Regions from separate parts of the Homo sapiens genome. Here all the other regions are linked to region 5. The links are contacts of gene promoters, found by promoter capture Hi-C in blood cells and fetal thymus (Javierre and others, 2016). All regions are on one chromosome and are shown on one strand. The core of a region is centred on a gene start or on the middle of the fragment in contact, and the rest is flanking DNA. Distances in the headings are between cores, read along the strand shown.

Evidence for each region. The method cuts DNA at HindIII sites, captures the fragments that hold promoters and counts their contacts. A CHiCAGO score of 5 or more calls a contact.
Region 1: a fragment that was not itself captured here is called in contact with the fragment with the promoter of AKR7A2 in region 5 in 2 of 17 cell types (total CD4 T cells and naive CD4 T cells); the score reaches 7.1 in total CD4 T cells.
Region 2: a fragment that was not itself captured here is called in contact with the fragment with the promoter of AKR7A2 in region 5 in 4 of 17 cell types (non-activated CD4 T cells, erythroblasts, activated CD4 T cells and 1 more); the score reaches 6.1 in non-activated CD4 T cells.
Region 3: a fragment that was not itself captured here is called in contact with the fragment with the promoter of AKR7A2 in region 5 in 4 of 17 cell types (neutrophils, fetal thymus, monocytes and 1 more); the score reaches 7.1 in neutrophils.
Region 4: a contact is called between a fragment that was not itself captured here and the fragment with the promoter of AKR7A2 in region 5, in 2 of 17 cell types (neutrophils and activated CD4 T cells). The highest score is 6.7, in neutrophils.
Region 6: a fragment that was not itself captured here is called in contact with the fragment with the promoter of AKR7A2 in region 5 in 1 of 17 cell types (total CD8 T cells); the score reaches 5.0 in total CD8 T cells.
Region 7: a fragment that was not itself captured here is called in contact with the fragment with the promoter of AKR7A2 in region 5 in 1 of 17 cell types (erythroblasts); the score reaches 5.3 in erythroblasts.

The regions. Positions count from the first base shown.
Region 1 is chr1:19,704,545-19,707,554 of GRCh38, forward strand. All of the region lies in intron 13 of TMCO4 (transmembrane and coiled-coil domains 4), which reads right to left. Among named protein-coding and RNA genes, the nearest start is that of HTR6, 41 kb to the left of the region's middle. The HindIII fragment of the contact is 1,060 bases long and covers 1,098-2,157 here.
Region 2 is chr1:19,643,852-19,646,620 of GRCh38, forward strand. The region is part of intron 1 of MICOS10-NBL1 (MICOS10-NBL1 readthrough); the gene reads left to right. NBL1 (NBL1, DAN family BMP antagonist) reads left to right here and starts at 460. Exons shown (of 4, transcript NM_005380.8): 1 at 460-595. RefSeq lists an enhancer at 1-307 and a silencer at 206-545. The HindIII fragment of the contact is 7,360 bases long and covers 1-2,769 here.
Region 3 is chr1:19,594,371-19,597,349 of GRCh38, forward strand. It overlaps MICOS10-NBL1 (MICOS10-NBL1 readthrough), which reads left to right and starts at 2,609. Exons shown (of 4, transcript NM_001204089.2): 1 at 2,609-2,739. It overlaps MICOS10 (mitochondrial contact site and cristae organizing system subunit 10), which reads left to right and starts at 2,609. Exons shown (of 4, transcript NM_001032363.4): 1 at 2,609-2,739. The coding sequence starts at 2,676. It overlaps MICOS10-DT (MICOS10 divergent transcript), which reads right to left and starts at 2,462. Exons shown (of 2, transcript NR_135054.1): 1 at 2,340-2,462. RefSeq lists an enhancer at 2,402-2,701 and a silencer at 2,822-2,979. The HindIII fragment of the contact is 1,026 bases long and covers 971-1,996 here.
Region 4 is chr1:19,576,491-19,579,477 of GRCh38, forward strand. No RefSeq gene overlaps it. Among named protein-coding and RNA genes, the nearest start is that of MICOS10-DT, 19 kb to the right of the region's middle. The HindIII fragment of the contact is 3,214 bases long and covers 1-2,987 here.
Region 5 is chr1:19,310,447-19,313,510 of GRCh38, forward strand. AKR7A2 (aldo-keto reductase family 7 member A2) reads right to left here and starts at 1,698. Exons shown (of 7, transcript NM_003689.4): 1 at 1,381-1,698. The coding sequence starts at 1,678. SLC66A1 (solute carrier family 66 member 1) reads left to right here and starts at 1,880. Exons shown (of 8, transcript NM_001040125.2): 1 at 1,880-2,443. RefSeq lists an enhancer at 1,289-1,788 and silencers at 1,380-2,019, 2,100-2,189. The HindIII fragment of the contact is 20,070 bases long and covers 1-3,064 here.
Region 6 is chr1:19,737,173-19,740,135 of GRCh38, forward strand. TMCO4 (transmembrane and coiled-coil domains 4) reads right to left here. Exons shown (of 16, transcript NM_181719.7): 12 at 2,652-2,788; 13 at 200-284. Among named protein-coding and RNA genes, the nearest start is that of TMCO4, 61 kb to the right of the region's middle. The HindIII fragment of the contact is 1,089 bases long and covers 922-2,010 here.
Region 7 is chr1:19,624,896-19,627,736 of GRCh38, forward strand. The region is part of intron 1 of MICOS10-NBL1 (MICOS10-NBL1 readthrough); the gene reads left to right. MICOS10 (mitochondrial contact site and cristae organizing system subunit 10) reads left to right here. Exons shown (of 4, transcript NM_001032363.4): 4 at 1,492-2,841. The coding sequence ends at 1,506. Among named protein-coding and RNA genes, the nearest start is that of NBL1, 18 kb to the right of the region's middle. The HindIII fragment of the contact is 1,431 bases long and covers 730-2,160 here.

The sequences.
Region 1 (3,010 bases), core at 378-2,877, 390 kb after region 5:
TCGTTGCTCCTACAGTGCCAAATGGTTGTGGACCCAGGGATAACCATGAGCTCAGCAGCTTTCTCTGGGGGCCGGCCATTCAGGGCGCCTTCTCTGCCTGGCAGAGTCTGCCCTGCTAAGAGCTGGGACTGCTTTTCGAGCCTTGGTGCGGCTGCCTGCAGGGCTGGGACCCCTTGTGGCCAGCGGTGGTAATAGCAGCATTCCTGAGCCACAGTCAGGATCCACGGACAGCTGAGCTTCAGGAAAACCTAAAAAGGGAGCCGCCTGTGACCTTGAACTGAGACTCGTAGTTGAACCCCATAAAATAGTCCTGAGCACAGCCAAACCAAGCTGGCAACACATTTACCCATCTCTGAAGCTGGGCTGGCAGCTGCCTAGCTGGGACCCTCCCCCTTTCCTCCTTAGACCACTGCCATGCCCAGATGTACCCTTAGATTTTAAAGATTTGCTCTCTTTGTCGCTGCTGACCTGGAGATAAGCTACGTGGCAGGCTCTCAGCAATGCATGGTGTTAGCTAAGGGCGGTTGGCAAGAACCACCTTAGACCAGGGGTGTCCAATCTTTTGGCTTCCGTGGGCCACATTGGAAGAACTGACTTGAGCCACACATAAAATACACTAACACTAGGCGGGCACCGTGGCTCACACCTGTAATCCCAGCACTTTGGGAGGCTGAGGCGGATGGATCACCTGAGGTCAGGAGTTTGAGACCAGCCTGGCCAACATGGCAAAAACCTGTCTCTACTAAAAATACAAAAATTAGCCAGGCGTGGTGGTGGGTGCCTGTAGTCCCAGCTACTCGGAAGGCTGAGGTAGGGGAATCGCTTGAACCCAGGAGGCGGAGATTGCAGTGAGCTAAGATGGTACCACTGCACTCCAGCCTGGGCGACAGAGACAGACTCCATCTCAAAAATAAATAAATAAATAAATAAACAAATAAATAAAAATAAATTAACACAATAGTCGATGAGATAAAAAAATAAAAAAAAGAATTGCAAAAAAAAAAACAACTCATGTTTTAGGAACGTTACTAATTTGTGTTGAGCTGCATTCAAAGCCATCCTGGGTGGCATGTGGCCAGCAGGCCACTGGTTGGACAAGCTTGCCTTAGACCCACCCAAGGTAGATATGGATAGGCAGTCAGAGCCCATTACCACCTGACTGTTCCTAGAACGGGATGGTGTAGGAGGGGAAACCTATTTAGGTTAGGAAAAAGACGATACTGGCTGCTGTCATAGCTGCTGGAAAGGAAAAAAAAAAACAGTCAAAATCCACTGTTTGGTTCAAAACCTTATAATACTAGAATAATTCAGCCTTCCAGGTAAACTACGGAAAATCCTCACTCGGGTACCACTTTTTAATTTAATTTAAATTTTGAGACAGGGTCTCCCTCTGTTGCCCAGGCTGGAGTGCTGTGGCGCAATTGTGGCTCACTGCAGCCTCGACCTCACAGGCTCAAGTGATTCTCCTACCTCTGCCTCCCAAGTAGCTGGGACTACAGGTGTCTGTCATCATCACACCTGGCTGATTTGTTAAATTTTAGTAGAGATGAGGTCTTGCTATGTTGCCCAGGCTGGTCTCAAACTCCTGGACTCAGGTAATCCTCCCACCTTAGCCTCCTAAAGTGCTGGGATTTATAAGAGTGAGCCACCGCATCTGGCCCAGGTACCACTTGCAGTGTCAAGCAAGTCCCTTCCACAGGGACAGAAAATCCTTCAGATCATCATGTGGATTCAGTGTAGAATGCCCCCGGTTTTCAAGACCGACAAAAGAAACTGAGATTTAAACATTTCAATAATAATGGATATGAGAAGACCTCACTGCCCTTTCACTGCATGGACAATGAGTGTTTGCTGAAACATGTTTGGGATTTATTCCTACCGCTACCATCAGCTTTTCTTCTTGTAAATTTTCAAGACATTAGGAGAGCCCTATATAGCTTTAGAAATATTCAGACTTTTTATGTAAAAGAGGGCAGGGATTAACTTCAAGTTCAGGAGTCGAGTCATAGACATGTAGAGCGTTTATGCTTGCATTTCTCATTTTTAAACAGTTCTCGCTAAGTTATTAATATCCTATTTTTACTGTGAGAGCTGAAGGCCTTTCATCCTATTATAACTTTGGCATTAAGGCAGTTCCAAACCTGCAGTAGTTGGAAAAGCTTCATCAGTCATGTCTTTACCCCTCAGCTCTTAGAACTTATTGTCATTCACATGTGCCGTGAAAAAAAATGTTTCTTTCCAACACTTTCTTTGCCTCTACCTCTTATTGCTATTTTAAACACAGGAGCCCAGCTGATCACTTTACATTCTCAGTCATAGGCATGAGATGTCTTTTTAGATTGATGGAAATGTTCTAAAATTGGATTTGGTGATGATTGCACAGCTCTATATATGTCCTAAAAATCATTAAATTGTGCATTTAAAATGGGTGGGTCTTGTGGTACATAAATTATACTGCAGTGAAGTCAGATCATGTCACCTTTGTGCTTAAAAACCTCCCAGGGGACCCATCTCTCATGGAGTCAAAGTTAAAGTCATTGCAATGGCCTCGAAGCCCTGCCTGACCTTCCCTTCATTCTCTGTGCTCCAGCCACACTGGCCTTGCTGTTCCCTCTTTGAAATGGTTTGGACGTTTGTCCCCTCCAGATTTCATGCTGAAATGTGATGTGGGGCCTGGTGGGAGCTGTTTGGGTCATGGGGGTGGATCCTTCATAAATGGCTTGGTGCCCTTCTCTTGGTGATGGGTGAGATCTCAGTTTATTAGTTCATGAAAGATCTGATTACTTAGAGACTGGCAGCTGGGCACGGTGGCTCACACCTGTATTCCCAGTGCTTTGGGAGGCCAAGGTCGGTGGATTGCTTGAGGCCAGCAGTTTGAGACCAGTCTGGCCAACATGGCAAAACCCAGTCTCTACTAAAAACACAAAAATTATCCCGGGGTGGTGGCACATGCCTGTAATCCCAACTTCTTGGGAGGCTGAGGCAGGAGAATCACTTGAACCTGGGAGGA
Region 2 (2,769 bases), core at 188-2,687, 330 kb after region 5:
GCGCCCCACTCTCGGGGCAAGTCTGCAATGCCCGGTGCCCACAAAAAGGACACATCCATCTTTGTCACCCCGAGGCCTGGCACGGCCTGACGGCCCAGGCTCGGTAAAAGTCGGGCGGAGAGAGTGGAAGCGCAGAGAAACCCGGGGAGGGCGCTTAAGAACGGGCCAGGGCGCCCGGCTGGGCTGCCCTGCCTCTCGGGCGCCGGCCAGGCGTCCCGGCCGCCCCACCACGCCGTCGGAGCGCGCCGAAGCTCAGCCCGGGGCGGGCGGGCCAGGAGAGGGCCCGGGGCCCCTGCCGCCGCGGCGCCCCCTCCTGCGCACCCGGAGGGAGAGGCCGCGCGCGCCCGCCCGCTCTTTCTGCGCGCGGCCCTCCCCGCTGCCCCCGCCCTCGCGCCCTGTTTGGAGGGAGCCACCCTGACGTCGGAGCCGCTCCCCCGCGCCGCGCGCCCGCCCGGGGCCGCAGACAGCGCGCAGCGCAGCCCAGCCGAGCGTCGCGGGGCCGCCCCCCGCCCTGCCGGCCGCCTCGCCGAGCCTCCTGGGGCGCCCGGGCCCGCGACCCCCGCACCCAGCTCCGCAGGACCGGCGGGCGCGCGCGGTAAGTCCCGCCCGGGTCGGCACGCGGGCGCCCGGCTTCCAGAGGCTTCGGCCGCGGGGGCAGTGCCGCGCCCCCAGCCCGGAGCTGCGTCCCCCGGCGCGTCCGGCGGCCGCGGGCACCGGGTGGAGGCGCCGCCGCCGAGCTCAGGAGCCCTGGGGGACCTGGCGGGCGCCTCCGGACGCCGGCGCTGGGGACGTGGGCGCGGCACGGGGTGGCCGGGGGGCACCGCCGCGTCCGGAGCCCGTCCCCAGACTCGCCCCAGGGTTCCGTTTCTGGATCGGAGTTTCCGCGGCCGGGGGAGAGAGGGAGCGAGGGAGGGAGATGCGTGGCCGGGCGGGCCGGGCTCGCATGTCCCCCGGCCGTGCCCGGGCCTCGCCGCGCCGCGCCTCTCGGCTCTGGACGTTTCCGCCTCCCGCGGCCCCCTCTGCTTCGGTCCCCACGTCCGTGTGTCTGTCTCTCCGTCGCTCCGTTTCCGCCGCTCACTTTCCCCTGGTCTGCCCGTCTCTTTCCGTTCCCCGCCTGCCTCCGTGTTCGGCTGCCCGCGTTTGTGTCTCTGCCTCTGGCTTTTCTCTCCCTCTCTCTGTCTCTGCGCTGCCCTCTGTGGGGGTCTCGCCCTGTGTCTGCGCCTCTCCCTGATCCCCCGCCCTCCGATCCAGACAATCCCCCAGTGTCGGAGGCTCGCCTTCCCCCAGCGGGGTTCACGAATAGTTTCCTAGACCGGGTGCGGCAAACCCTCCCCCTGCCTCCCGCCGGCCCCGAGGCCTGGCCCGGGTCATCTCCCTGGAATTGAGTCTGGGGCAGGGAGAGCCAGCCTTTCCGGGGGCTCAGTTTTCTTAAGAATTCCACCCCCGCGAGGCCGGCTGGACGACAGGCCCTGCTGCGGGCCACCTGCCCGGCCCGCTCCCAGGGCGGGGCGATTCTGATCGTTTACAAGCGGCGGCAAAGGGGGCAGCCGCCTGCCTTGGCGTGGCCGGAGGTTGGCGGGCATCAAGGGAGAAAGCCACACTTCCAGGCTTTCGGAGGCCCTCGCTCCCCAAGCTGGACGCCACCAGCCTGTAACTAGGGGCACCCCAGGAAAACAGAGGTCAGGGCTGGAGGCCAAAGACCGGGCGCTGGCGGGGAAGCAATTTGTCAACAAGGAGCCCCTCACCCTTTGTTACTGCGGAATGGGGCCTCCCTAGACTCCCCCAGATGCTGGGGCTGCTTGGGCGTGGTTTGCCTTGAGTTGGGGCCAAAGAAAAGGCGAGGCTGCAGCGTTTCCTCGGTGACCCCTACCCCTCTCCACCCACCCCTGCAAGCTGGACCTCTCTCCCGGGCCTGTGTTTTGGAGGGGTGGACAGGGGAGTAGGTGTTCTGCATCGGCCAGGGATATCGCCTCATTATTTTAAAGTGAAATTTCAGGCTGAGTTTAGCTGCTTCCCCCCACCCACAACCTCAAGGGTCGGAGGCTGCCGGAGCGGGCAGGGTTGTTGGTGAGGTCTGCAGTGGAACTTCTGCTGAGCAGATGTGCAGCCTGGCCCTGCAGCAGCTCATTAGCATGGATTTGTTTTGGAGACTGTTTTTCGTTTGCGGGCAGGAGGGTCTGCGGTAAGGAGGGCCGTGGCCTGGGTTTGGGGGCTGGCACAGAGGTGGTCAGGGCTGGAAGATGCAGGCAGGCCTGGGTGGCACGGGGTCGGCCCTGTGTGTCCGCCCTCTGGACAGTTGACTCATGCTCTCCCCAGTGCTGAAGGAAGGAAGGAAAAGCCACCCTGCCGTGAGACTGGGGTCGTGGAATCACAGCGGCCTTAAGCAGTATGCTGGAGCCAGGCTCCTCCCTGGGGGATCTGCTGAAATGGACGTTCCCAGGCCAGGCTGCCCATTTTACAGATGCAAACGTGAAGCTGAGGGGGGAAGCAAATGGTCAGTGGCTCGAGCTATAACCATTAGACTCTCCTGACTCCAGGCACACAGAAAGCCAATGTATGAGCTTTGGCCAGAACTCATCCTCAAACCCCAGAGTGAGCCCAGGAAACCCGGTTGGGCTGACCAGAGCCGGGGCCTGACCTGGGTGAGCAGGGAGCCCCAAGCCTGACACTGCCTTGCCCCTTCACAGAGCAACAATTTCAGTTGCACCATTCAAGGAAGTCCCTGTGCTCATTTCAAGACCTGGAGCGATCGCCCCGCCCTTGCCAAGC
Region 3 (2,979 bases), core at 234-2,733, 280 kb after region 5:
ATGATGGCTCAAGCCTGTAATCCCAGCACTTTGGGAGGCTGAGGTGGGTGGTTCACCTGAGGTCAGGAGTTCAAGACCAGCTTGGCCAACATGGTGAAACCCCATCTCTACTAAAAATACAAAAATTAGCTGGGGGTGGTGGCACGTGCTTGTAATCCCAACTACTCAGGTGGCTGAGACAGGAGAATCTCTTGAACCTGGGAGGCAGAGGTTGCAGTGAGCCAAGATCATGCCACTGCACTCCAGCCTGGGTGACAGAGCAAGACTCTGTCTCAAAAAAAAAAAAAAAAAGAAAGAATAATTTAAAAAAATAGAGAACTAGGAGAAGGGAAGGGTGGTCATAGAAGTTATCTTGAAGGAAGAGGCTGTCGTAGCAAGATCTGATACAACAGAGTTTTGCTGTCATAGTTGCAAATAAATAGTTGAACGATGCCTGTAATCCCAGCACTTTGGGAGGCCAAGGTGGGTGGATCACTTGAGGCCAGGAGTCAAGACCAGCCTGGCCAATATGGCGAAACCCCATCTCTACTAAAAAAATACAAAAAGTTAGCCAGGCGTGGTGGTGGGCGCCTGTAATCCCAGCTATTTTGGAGGCTGAGGCAGAAGAATTGCTCAAACCCAGTAGGCAGAGGTTGCAGTGAGCCGAGATCGTGCCACTGCACTCCAGCCTGGGCAACAGAGCGCGACTCTCTCTCAATAAATAAATAAACAAATAAATAGGTGAATAAATTCAATTCAGTTCAACAAATATTTCATAGAAGACCCTACTATCCAAGGCATTGTGCTCTGACTGGAAGTATGAAGACGAAGGGGCAACTTCTAGTTCTACTAGCAGATAATATCTACAACCAGATGTTTCAGTACTAGATAGAGAAATCAATGCGGGTAGGCAGGGTAGTGGGACAATGAGAAGGGGAAGGCAGCTCTAAGCTCTATCTGACTAGGCTTCCTAGAATCAGTGCAGTGTTGAAGCTTGGATAGATCCAGTGTATGAATGGGAGTCATTGACAGCTTTTTTTTTTTTTCTTTTGTGATAGGGTATCACTCTGATGCCCAGGCTGGAGTGCAGTGGCATGAACATGGCTCAGTGTAGCCTCCACTTCCCAGGCTCAAGTGATCCTCCTACCTCAGCCTCCTAAGTAGCTGGGACTAAAGGCACACATCACATTAGCCTGGCTAATTTTTTAAATTTTTTGTAGAGACAGGAGTCTCACTATGCTGCCTAGGCTGGTCTTGAACTACTGGCCTCAAACAATCCTCCCGCCTCAGCCTCCCAGAGTGTTGGGATTACAGGTGTGAGCCACTGCTCTCGGCCTTCATTGACAGCTTCTAATCAGAGGCATAACGTGGTCAGATTTCTATTTGTTGGTAGGATGGAAGACTAAAATCAATGACACTAGCCAGTAGGCTGGATATACAATCTCTCTTGATAGCTGTGGGCATTTGGTTTCAGGATCTCGCAGTTACCAAAATGCAGGATGCTCAAGTCCCATATATAAAATGGCGTGGTATTTGCATACAACCTACACACATGCTTACATATCCTTTTTTAAAATTACTTATTTTTTTTTAAAGAGATGAAGTCGAACTCCTAGTCTCAAGCAATCCTCCCATCTCAGCCTCCCAAGTAGCTGGGACTACGGTCGCATGCCACTGCGCTGGCTCCCATATACTTTAAATCATCTCTAGGTTACTTATAATACCTAATACAATGTAAATCCTAGGTAAATAGTTGTACTGTATTTTAAATTTTGCATTATTTTTTATTTGATTCAAAAATGTTTCTGGTCCATGGTTGGTTAAATCCATGGATGCAAAACCCACAGATACAGAGGGCACCCTGTGTATGTATGTGTATGTGTGTGTGTGTGTGGGTGGGTGTGTAAATATATACATGGATAGGAGGCCTGAGGTAGACGTTTTACCTGGAGATATAATTTGGCAGTGTTTGCAATTACTCAGGGAGAGTCTGTACAGTGAAAAGAGAATTGATGGAAGCTTGCGAACCAACAGTCCTTAAACAGCTGGCAGAGAAAAGGCAGCCCTGGAGGAAACCAACAGACAACAGCAGATGGGGAGAAGAGGAAAGAGTGGCGTTACCGGGAGTGAAACGAATAGAGGAGCCAGGGAGGATCAGAGGGAGGGAAAATTGTGTGGAATGCGGTACAGAGGTCAGAAAAGAGTCCATTTGATTTGGCGGTAGGTAATCTTTCCCAGAGCAGTTTCGGTGTTAGTGGTTCAGGCGGGAATTCCAATGCAAGAAACCAGTGAACGAATGAGAGAGTGAGTAGGGAAAGTGAAGGTGAGTACGTTAATGAATGAATAAATCAAGTCTGTACCCTCTCTTGCCCGGGGGATTTCCAGGGCCAATGTCGCACTTTGGTGAGGAGGAAAGGCCTGGTCACGGCTTGGGGTGACGCCTAGGAAACTGTCAGCCTCGCAAACCCATAGGCGCAGCCCCAAGGTCAGGGTCACCTCGAGCCTCCAGACAACTCGTCACCTTGACGACCAACTGAAAAAACCGGAAGGGATGGAAGCAGCGGATCATCTCGCGATATCTGGAGCGTCTGCGCCTGCCTTCCTGACCTGGGACTTGTTTCCAGCTCTCGCGAGACTTTCAGGGGTCGGAGCGCGGGGGCCGGCCGAGAGGAAAGCTGGAGGCGCGGGTGGGGAACATGTCTGAGTCGGAGCTCGGCAGGAAGTGGGACCGGTGTCTGGCGGATGCGGTCGTGAAGATAGGTAAGGGGCTTTTCGCCCCAGCAGGCCCGGCCGGTGCAGAGCTGCTGGCTCCAGGCTGCGCTGCCCAGGAGGAAGGAAGGGAAGCCCCACGGGAGGTCAGGCCTCTCGGCCTTTTCCGGCCCCTCCGGCCAGGGCGAGCCGCCCGGGCCCCGGCGGGAGGTCACTCGGGCGGCGGGCACAGACCCGAGGAGCCGGAGCAGCAGCCCGGGTGCGGGGTGGAGTTGCAGCCCGGAGGAGGTG
Region 4 (2,987 bases), core at 187-2,686, 270 kb after region 5:
CTTCTCTTTACAGATAAAGAATTTGAAGTACCAAGCACCATCGCAAGAACATCAAATGAGTACTTCCTATAGCTTTACAGTTTACAAAGGCTCTGAACTCAGGCTTTCCTGAAGGGGGCTTACTCCTCACTTTAGAAATGGCCAGTGGAGGATATAGCATCAGGCCGTTCGACCACCACAATCCCCTGAAATGACCTGAGCAGCATATTCAAGTCAGCGCAGGGGTGAGATTTAAAGTTGCCACAAGAGACCCAGAACTGTGGCTCATGCCTGTAATCCCAGCACTTTGGGAGGCCGAGTCAGGAGGATCACCTGAGGCCAGGAGTTCAAGACCAGCCTGGTCAACATGGCAAAACCCCATCTCTACTAAAAATACAAAAAATAAAAAAAAATAGTCGGGCGTGGTAGCGCGCGCATGTAGCCCCAGCTACTCGGGAAACTGAGGCAGGAGAATTGCTTGAACCCGGGAGGCAGAGATTGCAGTGAGCCGAGATTGCACCACTGCACTCCAGTCTGGGTGACAGAGTGAGATTTCATTTCAAAAAAATAAAAAAATAAAGTTGCCACAACATCCCCAGTTTGTCTCTGGAATCCTCCCAGACTACCTCGTTTTTCCACTCTGCTACTCCTTGTTCATAAATTTCTTGGTTCTCAGCTGACTTTGTTTTGGCTTTACATTACGGTTTCTATCCTCCACCCATGTCTTTGCTGGATGATCTGCTGGGCTTGACTCATTCTTCTGGCTCTCAACAACCATATGGATCCACGCCACTGCCTTTGGTCTTTGTTCTTCAATCCCCCACATTGCTCCCAAAGGGAAGAAGCAGTTCATCTGTGGGATCCACTTGATGTGTCTCACCTTTCACCAGGACCACGAGGGGCGTGGGGGCCTGCCAGCTTCAAGATGGCACAATAAAGGCATTTCTGCTACCATCTTTTAAAATCACTCCAAAATAAGCAGTACAATAAATTTAAAAATATGTATATTATTTAGGAAACCAGGAGACAACAGCAGCCCCTAATCATACTAATTGAACCAGAGAGGGAAAGGGCAACACACACCAGGTGGTTCTGATAATGGTGGGTGTTAGGGTATTTAGACTAGACCTTGAAGATAGAGAGTTCTTCAGTGTTTCTTTATTCCCAGAGCTTAGCATAGAACCTGGCCAAATCAAGTCCTCATCAAATACTTGTTGAGTGAATTACATCATTATATATATTTATATCCTATAACAGTTATCAGCACATGAAAACATTTTACTATAAGGAGAACTGTTAGAAATGTTTGCTACATTGCTAAGCGGGGCTTCCGTTCTTTCTCTTGGAGAGAGGACCCTTCTACATCCATAGGCTGAGGAAGAGAACTCTGACTAATACCTTTGCCCTGATGATTAGCATTTCATTGCTTCAATTTTTAAAACATTCACAAAATCTGCTCTTTCATTGGCTCTGTTTCAGTCGTTCATTATTTTAATGTGAACTTGGCTCTTATGGAGGTCAGGACTTGATAATTGCATTCAGCCCTTTGCAATTATTGGTAAGAAACCAGGTAAGAAACCACTGACATTTAATATTTAATTGTTTTTGATCAGCATTAATTAGTCACAGATGCACACCAGATTCCCATTTAATTAAATACTCTTGGGAACATATTTTGGGCTCAGGGATTCTAACCACATCAAAAAATAAGTGTTCAACTTTAAAAGTTGGGCCCCAGAGACCCAGGCATCCATGGAGAGGAAATTCCAGATGTCTAGCATTCTCCCTTTTCTTAGAAATAAACCTTCTACTTCTAGCCCTCTGGAATAGAAAGTCTCGGCATTTCTTTTCTCTTTTATTTTATTTATTTATTTTTTGAGATGGAGTCTCACTCTGTCGCCCAGGCTGGAGTGCAGTGGCACGATCTCGGCTCACTGCAACCTCCACCTCCCAGGTTCAAGCCATTCTCCTTCCTCAGCCTCCCAAGTAGCTGGGACTACAAGCATGCACCACCATGCCCGGCTAATTTTTGTATTTTTAGTAGAGATGGGGTTTCACCATGTTGGCCAGGCTGGTCTCAAACTCTTGACCTCATGATCCACCCACCTTGGCCTCCCAAAGTGCTGGGATTACAGGCGTGAGCCACCAGGCCCGGCCTCTTTTATCCTTTTTTTGTTTGTTTGTTTGTTTTTTTGAGACAGAGTCTTCCTCTATCGCCCAGGCTGGAGTGCAGTGGTGCGATCTCAGCTCACTGCAGCCTCTGCCTTCTGGGTTCAAGTGATTCTCCTGCCTCAGCCTCCCAAGTAGCTGGGATTACAGGCACTTGCCACCACGCTCAGCTCATTTTTGTATTATTAGTAGAGACGGGGTGTCACCATGTTGGCCAGGCTGGTCTCGAACTCCTGACCTCAAGTGATCCACCCACCTCGGCCTCCCAAGGTGCTGGGATTACAGGCATGAGCCACAGTGCCTGGCCCTCCTCTCTCTTCTTGCATCATCAGTTTTACCCTCTTTACTGAATCATTCCCATCCACATACAAACATGAGCAAGTTCTCCCATTCTAAAAAAACCCACTGTCAAACCCACCCCTTCTCAAACTATTGCCCTTTTTCGTCCCTCTTTGGAAATAAACTTCTAGAAAAGATTGTGTGCACTTGCTGCCTCCAGCCCCTCTCCTCCTAGTCTCTCTCAAACACACTGCATTTGGACTTTGGCTCCAACTACTCCATGGAGACCGTCCTTGTCAATGTCTCTAAAATTACCTTTCTGATGTTAAGACCAATGGCCACTTCTCCACCCTCTTTCATTTGGCCCAGTTAATCATGTTGTCTTTCTTGAAACACTTCATTTGGCTTCCAGGAGACCATTTTTTCTTGGTTTTCCTCCCGTCCATGTTCCTTCCTTCTCATTTTTCTTTGCTGATTTACCCTGATCTCCCTAGCCTCTAAATGTTAGGTGGTTTTAGCAATGCTTTTAACTTCCATTTGACCTCCCTATTTACTCTGCA
Region 5 (3,064 bases), core at 448-2,947:
CAGCACTTTGGGAGGCTGAGGTGGGCAGATCACTTGAGGTCAGGAGTTGAAGACCAGCCTGGCCAATATGGTGAAACCCCATCTCTACTAAAAATACAAAAATTAGCTGGGCGTGGCCGTGTGCACCTGTAATCCCAGTTACTTGGGAGGCTGAGGCAGAGGTTGCAGTGAGCTGAGATCGTGCCATTGCACTCCACCCTGGGTGACAGAGCAAGATTCCGTCTCAAATAATAATAATAACAAAAACAACAACATGCAGCCAGGTGAACTAGAAACAGCGTGGGCCTGAGATTCACATTTGCCCTCTTTTCCCCCCGACCCCCCAAGCGCTATGACTCAGGAGGACCCAGAGAGAACCTCTCCTCAGGGGTGGGGAGCAACAGCCTCAGGATAGTCCAGTGGGTGAAGCATGGTAAGGGTAACAGCCCACGTTCCCTGGGCCCTCACTGAGTGCCAGGCACCCTCCCAAGGGCTATCAAGGGCACCAGGCTCACGAGGGACAGTCCCCTCCATCCTCCACTCAAGCCCCACCTGCCCAGTGGCCTTCCTTTCACACATCACGCACATTGCATTTCCAAACCAAGTCTTTGCACAGACTCTAATGTTCCTTTCTCTTGTTCTCCTCCAACCTACCATTGAGCCTTTAAGGCTGAGCTCCATCCAGCATTTGCTGAGCCTTCCCTAGTGCCTCTCCCCGGCCTGCAGCTCCCTAAAGTACTCTCTCTTCTGGGCTCTCCAGCAATCATTACTTCAATCTTCCTCATTAGACTCTGAACTCCCTGTGGAGGGCTGGAATCACTTTCCCTCCTATGGCCCCAAGTCAAAGCCTGGCATAGAGTGGATAGAAAGTCCCTACACCCTGACCCGTCCGCACTCCCTAACACTCCTACTCTCCCAGCCAGCCTTACGGCATCGCCACAGTTCTCCCTGAGAGAGGCAGAGGTACTGCCAGCTGCACAGGTCAAATTCTAGTGGTTAAGAAAAGGCCAGGATGAGAAAAGGGTGCCCAGGGTGTGCATGCGTGATGATGGTAACGAAGGGGTAGAGAAAAGGGGGAGAGCCTGGGTGGGGACCGGTTGTGGGCACCTGGCAGGTTTGGAGGCGGGGGCATCAATGGAGGTGGGAAGCGATGGGTCAGACCAGGCTGGGGGGAGACTCTCGCGCTGCAACTCCCAAGGGAAGGAGAGTGGGGGAAAGGAGTCAGGGCAAAGCACTGTCTAGTTGTCCCGGGGTTCCCAGAGCTGCGGGGTGGACCTGGGGTGGGGAGCGAGGGACGAATCCGTCGGTGCTGCCCGCGGCCGGGCCCGAGCGGGGTGGTGCACGGCTGGGGACAGGCTCAGCTCTACACGATGCATGGGGAGGATCTGCAGCTACTGTTACCTCTGCAGTCGCCACCGCCCAGCCCGAGCCCCAGGCCGCCCAGGATGGTCTCGGACTGGCCGTCGCTGTACATGAAGGCCGTGTCCAGTTCGGTGTGGCCGCGCTCCAGAAAGGCGCGCACGGCCGCGGCGCTGGCGGGCGCGTCCATGCGGCGCCCCATCTCCATGGTGCCCAGCACCGAGGCGACCCGCGGTGGCGGTGGCCGGGACATGGCGAGCGCGCGGGCCTCGGGCGGCGGAGAGCGAAGCGCGCAGTGGACGGCGGCGCGGGAGACTACGCGAGACGCGGCACTCAGCATAGCAGCGGCGCCTGCGCGTTGGGAGCCGGGGGCCCCGCCCATGCCGGGGAGGAGCGCGGAGGCAGTTGGGGGCGGGGACAACAGGCGCGGCCCCAGCGGCGCCTCCAGGCCCGGTCAGCCCAGCGCGCGGCGTGGGGGCGGGGCCTGCGGTTCCCGCGGGGGCGGTGGCGCGCGGTCAGCTGACCCGGCGGGCCTTGACCCAGAAGCTGGGCCCTGGCGGCGGATCTGGACGTGGTGAGCCGGACCGGGGGCAGGTGGCAAACTTCACGGCTGGGGGTCGGGGCTCCTGGGCTTCCCTGCCACATCCTTCCAGCCCTCTCCTCCGGCCGCTGGACTGTCCCGGCTCCTGCGCCCTCCTTGTGGCGCGATATCGTGGGACGAGGCTCCGGGCCGGGACTGGGTGGCCCTCGGGAATCCGCAGCCAGTGGCCCCCCACCTCAAAGGCGACCAGCGCGGCCTCTCGAGCTGGCCTGGCCAGGAGTTGCCCTGCCCCGGCCGACCGGCCCCTTGGCATCTGATGGCTTCGTTTTTCCCGGGCCGGCCGGGCGAGGGGCCCTCGCGGCGCTGGCCCCAGCAGCTGTCCTATCATTATCCCTCCAAACAGGCGGCCCGCGCCGGGCTGAGTCACCAGGAGGGAGCTGTGGCCGAGGACGCCGAGGCCTGGAGTGGGTGGTAGCCCCGAGCTGGGACGCTCCTCCCTCCACAATCTCCCCAGGTCTGCAGGGACCGAGGGCCTACACTGCCTCCTCCCACGCCGTGCTTAGGGTAGGTTTCCAAACGTGTAAATGGAGAGTCTGAGTCTGGAAGTGTGAGGGGTCCCGGGCCTGGGTCACAGGTCATGTCTAATCAACGCTTACTGAAGGCGCCTGTGTGCCCGGACGCTGGAGGGGCTACAATGAGAACAAATAATAGTCATTTTGGGCTGTTGGTGTTGAGTGCCAGTGCCAGGCACCCTTGTAATCGCTTGGCCTGGATTGTCTCATTTAACTCTGCAGTCAGCCTAGGTGGTGGGTATTGCATTATTCCCCTACTTTTCAGATGAGAACTACGAAGCTCAATCACTTGAGTTCCAGACTGGTAGGCATCGGGCAGGTCTGTTCCAGAGTGCTTTTCTCCTCAACCCTGGGCTGTTCGAGCTCACAGCTTTCTCCCCTTCCTTTCTCCTTTCCTTCCTCTTCTCTCTCTTCCACCCTTTCTCCTTTCTCACCCGTTTCCTCTCTTCTTCACTCTGTCCTTCTCTCTACCTCTCTCTTTCTCTCACTGTCTCTCAACATTTGCTGAACCTCTAGGTGTGTTTACACCTGGAGAATAAGAAATGCACAACCCAGGGTGGGGAGAGTACGTTTCAAAGACAGTGGTCGCAGAGGACGGTGGTAGCGTTCTTCA
Region 6 (2,963 bases), core at 216-2,715, 430 kb after region 5:
CTCTAATGTATGTATATAAAATCATTTCCCCAAGGTTGATGACGATTTTTCTTGATTTTTAAACTATTTTTAACTTTTAACTATTATTTCTAAGAACTGGGAACACATTTTGCAAGGCTCATGGCCCCTGGCCCAGAACATCTGTCCCTGGGAACAAGCTTGTGAAGGGTTTCCGTCTGTGACAATAATCCATGCTCACCTTTCTCTTGAGCCATCTCCTGCAGACAGAAGTAGATGACTCTGGCTCCCAGGCTGAAGCCAATCAAGGTGACAGGTCGTCGCCCCTGAAGGGAAAAAGGACACAGGTGTCTGGAAGGAATACTGCCAGTTCTAGCAAAACATCAGGCCTGAGGAGGGCAGCCTTTGCACATTCCTTACCACCTGATTCTCATCTAATGAATCATGCATGTGCTGTTCCGGTCCCTGAGCGCTGATGTCTTAATCAGCAGAGTCAGGACCCTCATTTATGCAGGAGTGCACCTGCTGCTGGAATTGGCTTCCTCCAAGGCCAACAGGCAGCCCCCGGCTGGGTTAATTCCCTTTCATCTCAAATCATTATCCAGCCACCGTCTCATCTTCCCCAGGAGACAGGGCTAGTCAATTACAAGAGCAACTTCCCTTGCACTGATCTGCCTTGCGGCAAATGGCTGCAGTGCTGCGGGACCCCTTCCGGAGCTGGGGAGATTAGACAGAAGGCACCCCCAGGTGTGAGGGGTAAAAAGGCAAGAGTGACAAGGGAGGGACAACAGTTCAGTTTCTAGATAGGAAGGTGGGGCACAAAATATTGGCTCTAAGTGATAAGATAAGGTAGTAAGTCAGATGGAAAGAGGAATTTTCTGACTCAAGGACTTGTAAGAAAAGGTAACTGATCATGTCAAGACTCTAAAGAAAATGAAAGTTATCTGGGGGTGTTTGGGTACAAGCTTACATGGAAGGAGAGGAGGGGAGTGGATGAGCTCTGGAGGCCCAGCCTGGTTTTACCAGTCTATTCCTTTTCCTTGGTTTTGTGCCAATACACGTATTCCACATCCCCACACCACTCCACTTACCACAGTAGAAAATCCTCTGTTAAACAGTATTCGAATCCTGCAGGAGCTTTGTGCCAACCCTGCTGGCCACTGCCCAATATCATTCTCCCCTTTGTCCTTTACTCCTGAGTTTGACTGGGCACACGGCCACCCAGCCAAAGACGAAGTTTCCCTGACTCCTCCGTAGCTTGAGGTGGCCACAGGGCTGAGACTTAGCACAGGGCAAGGAAAGGGGATCCTCCCTAAGGCATGCATTTTTGCCTTTTGACCTCCAGAGCTGTAAAATAGTACATTTGTTTTCAGCTGGTAAATTTGTGGTAATTTGTAACAGTGGCAGCAGGAAACTAACACATCATCTTGCTCCAGATATTGACACCCAGACTCTTACTTGGGAGAGAACAAAATTCTATCTTGTCTAAGCCAATGCCACTTTGGCCTTTGCCTTAGAGTCAAGCCTGCCGAAGGATTTTCTGTTTCTTTTGACAAAGACGCAGGGATTGAAGGGGGTGGCCAGTTGCTCAAGCAGTTTAGCTGCATGGCAGAAACTGCTAGTTGTCATCCCTCAATATCCATCCTCCCTTTTTTCCATAGTAATTGAATTTCAGCTGGGTTCATCATCACTCAGAATAAATACTATATTTCCCAGCTTCTGTGGCAGCTAGGAATGGTCATGTGACTAGGCTCTGGCCAGTGAGACACCAACTGAAATGTTGTAAGGCTTTGCTGTTTCTTCTTCAGTTCTTCCTTTCTCCTGCTCCCTGGAGCTCGGATGATGCCATCTTTGATACAAGGTCAAGACCCCAGAGCAACAAGGTAGCAGGAACCTGGGCCTCTGCACCATGGAAGGCTATTAGACAACCTTGCTAGGCTTCTCCAGGAAAATAAATTTCTACCTTGTTTAAGCCACTGTTATTTTGGGTTTTCTCCCACTTCCAGCCAAAACAAATCCTGACAATGCAGTCATTTCTGGTACTGCTTCTCAAGCTTTTGTCTCCATTCACTCAAGTTTTATTCTGAAGGGGATGGTTTTATTCTCTTGGTAAGTACATCTTTACTAGATTCAAATTTTAAAAGTATTATGATGATGTCTCTTCCTAACCATTTTACATGGTATTTAGACCACCAAAGATGACCTCACAAAGTAGCTTTATACTTCTGGGAAGGAACACCAGGCCACCAGCATGTGGGAATTCCATTGGTGGCCAGCTGAAGCACCTGGTCTCATTCACTTTACTGGCTTCACTGCAAACTGCGTCAGAGGTTTCCACTGAAATATCACCCAAATGAGCCCAGTGATTATCCTAAACACTTGAATGAAGAGCTGATACATAGGAGCCACTTTTGCTTCTGCCAGAGTCCCCCAGACTTGTTCCTACCTGCAGATGCCCTGTTATTCAGTCCTTACCTAAATACCTGCTAGAGCTGCAGAGTCTATAATTTTTACTGTTCATCCTAGGACACATTCATTACTTGAACTGGAGAGGCAGCAAGGACTGCCCACACCCCCAAAACCATTGAGTTATCTCCAAGTAGCCTTGCCTCTAAGGCTGATATCTGTGAACAAGTCAGCACCTGACTTCCCCTCTTGCTCAATGCCACGCCCACACAGCCATTCCCAGGTACCTGCTGCCGGGAGAGCAGGATGTGGGCCAGGTGCTTGCCAACCTCTGCTGATCGATGGAGACACACCCCCCAGGGGTTGTCGATGACATTGGCGACACTGAGGAGTGAGGCTGGCCAGGTCAGGGCAGCCACAATGCCTGGGGAGGTGAGATAGTGATGAAGGGAATGGCCCCTGTCCTAGGGTCCTACTAGGGAAGTGACTGGCTAACAGATGCTCAAATAAATGCATGCAGTCTCCAACTTGGACCTGCAAGTTTGCCAATCAAACTGCTAAAGAACAAAGAAATCCGAAACTCATGAATTTCTGATATA
Region 7 (2,841 bases), core at 195-2,694, 310 kb after region 5:
TTTGTAGCAGCACAATTTTCAGTGAACAACTTCACATTCCCTGCATGCACAGAAGCCTCAGCTTTCCAGGTTACTCTTGGGCTAGAATCACTGTGAACGGGGCTGCAGTGGGGCTAGTGGAAAGGGCACAGAAGCCAGGAGACCTAGGTGCAAGCCTGTCACTTGCTTCCTGTGTGATCTTAAGTTGTTTCACTTCTGAGCTTCCATTTTCCTCCATAAAATGAGGGTAATAATTTCTACCTATAGTGTTGTTGTGAGATTTAGACACAAAATGTTTTTAAGCTGTGAAGTACGAAATATATAAAAACATTGGTTATTATAGATGAGGCCAGCCCAAAAAGGGTGATTGACTTGTCCATTGTTCCACTGTAACAACAAGTAGAGTGGAAAATGTGGTACAAATGCATGTCCTAATTCTAGTCAGGAGCTGTGGCCACAAGGGCCACCAAATCCAAAGTAGCAGTATCCTGCCACGGCCCTGCACCTGCCATTTTAGAACCTGCTGAAACCGTCAGCTGCCTGCAGCCAGCCCATGTCTGCTGGAGAGATGGGAGTAGGGGAGCCATCTCTGCACCAAAGCAAGAGTGAGGTCATCACAGGGACCATGCAAGAAGAGGCGCAGCTGTGTGGCACTGAAGCCGGCAGCCGGCCTTTTCCACCACTCCCTGGCTCCTCGCTTTCCTGGCATCAGAGCTGATTGTGGGGAGAACCGAAAGGAGCAGACAGAGAAGCTTCAGGTCTTTTGCTTAAAACATTTCCATTGTTCCAAACTGAGTTGTCAGGGATAATGGCTCAGGGGTGATTATATGCATATTATGTATTTAATGGCTGGGAGTTCCTGTGGAAAATATTGTTCCATTTTTTACATTTGTGTGTCCTGCTCCAAAATGGCCTTGTAACTTTATCTGGACTTGAGTCTGTGCCTCGATGTTGTCATCCTCCATTCCCTGAAAAATGGAGCAAAATCCCAACCTGGGCTTATTCAGTGTAGTCCTATTGTAATAACTGCCTCCTGAGTGCCCAATCTGCCCCCAGGACCATCCTGGGTGCTTTATCTTTAATAATCTTTCCCTCTAGACCTGCCAGTTGATTTGTGAGAGATGTTACTATCCTCATTCAGCTGATGAGAAAGCAGACTCTTACCGGGGTTGAGAAACTTGGCAAGGCCATGTAGTTCGTAGGCTGATGAGAACCATGCTCTCCCCACTCCCCTGGGACGCCTTCGACAGGTTTTAGGAATTGTTATCCAGGTCATGATGGTTTGGCCCTGTTCCACTCGTTTCCCACTCTTCTCCCTGGAAGATTGGGGCTGGATGGCACTCTTAGGAACCTAGGTAGGGTGTACATAGTCCTGTTGTGAGACAGTTTTAACGTAAACAGTGTGATAAGGTTTTGGCTTCTGGCCCTTTGGGTCTGACCTGATACAGCAATTAGAGAGGGTTGTCAGAATGCCGTCTGCACAGTTTTAAGCTGAATGTCCTTGCTTTACAGGAGCAGGAGCAGTGACTTCACCTGAGAACATCCCAGCGGGAGGACAAGAGAAATCATGTTTATTCCTCAGGAATACTGAAGTGCCCTGGAGTAAGCTGCCATTCTTCTGTAACAATGTTATCAGTAATGCTTTAAACTCCAGCACCTGGTTATGCATTTGAAACCAAGTCTGTTTCTTGTTTTGTATTTTCTCTCTGGAAGTTGTAAGGAGGTGGTCTTAAATAAATTAAACAAAAAGAGGAAGTCCATTGCATGGCCTTTGTTTCTTCACCTTTGGTCTCTGAGCATGAGGAGGACTGTGTGTGAACTGCCAGCAGCTGTAGCCACCTGCTCACAGCCTCTCTGAGAACCCCCTGAAACCAGTTGTTGGGTATCCTTCCCATTTGCCCCCTCAGGCGTAGTTTTCAGAACTGCTTCCACCTCGTAATCAGAAGTTGAAGATTGCTGCTGCGTGGCCTGATGGAGATGACTGATGTCTTAAGGCGCCTTTCCTTCTGTGGCACCTCTTCGTGTGTTCTCACCTGGGGACCTGGCAGGGCACATCTCCGCTGTGCCTACTGCAAGGCGGTCCCACTGCTGCTGTATTAGCAGGGGAAGAATCCTGGCTGTGTGGATGGCCCACTCCATTGAAGTCAAGTCCTGCAGCTTCATAGAGCTTGAGACAGTCCAAGCTTCAGCTCTGGAGGGCGGAGGAAAGCTCATGGCATACCCACCTGGCCGGAGGAGCCCGATTGGGGTTAATTTTATCTTCACGTAGCAGCTGAAGTTTGAGGACAAAAGGGCCACTTCTGATGCCCCTCTGAGTTTGTTCCTGTGGTTTCACTTGAACCAGGGATGCTAGATGCAAAAGTCATATTTTAGCAATTTCTTCAGACGATATACAGAACCCCAGCGCTCAGCCGTTCTTATTTCTTTTTCCTTATCGTAGAATTAAGATAGGGAGAGCCCGATCCCACTTGCCCCTGTATCCTGTAAATGTTGATTTATCATCTACTGTAAGCGAGGCACTGTTGTAAGCAGCAGAGATAAATGGATAAATAGACACAGGCTTCTGCCTTCAAGGAGCTTAGAGTCTGATGGAAAGACAGACGTGCAAACACAACTCTGAAAGAAGTGTTTTAATGGAGAAGAGAGGTGTAGGCAAAGTACACTGAGAACAAAGGAGAAGGAGCAACTATGTCTCCCTAGGATGGCCCCACAGGCGACGGAATGCCTGCGCTGGGACCCGAAGTTGACTGGGAATCCCAGACAGAAGGAGGGTAGCCTCTGTGTTTGCTCAGGATCATGTAATGCATATTATAGCTGGGAAATCGCAAGTAGTTCAGCATAGCCAGGGTGTGTAGGGGCAGG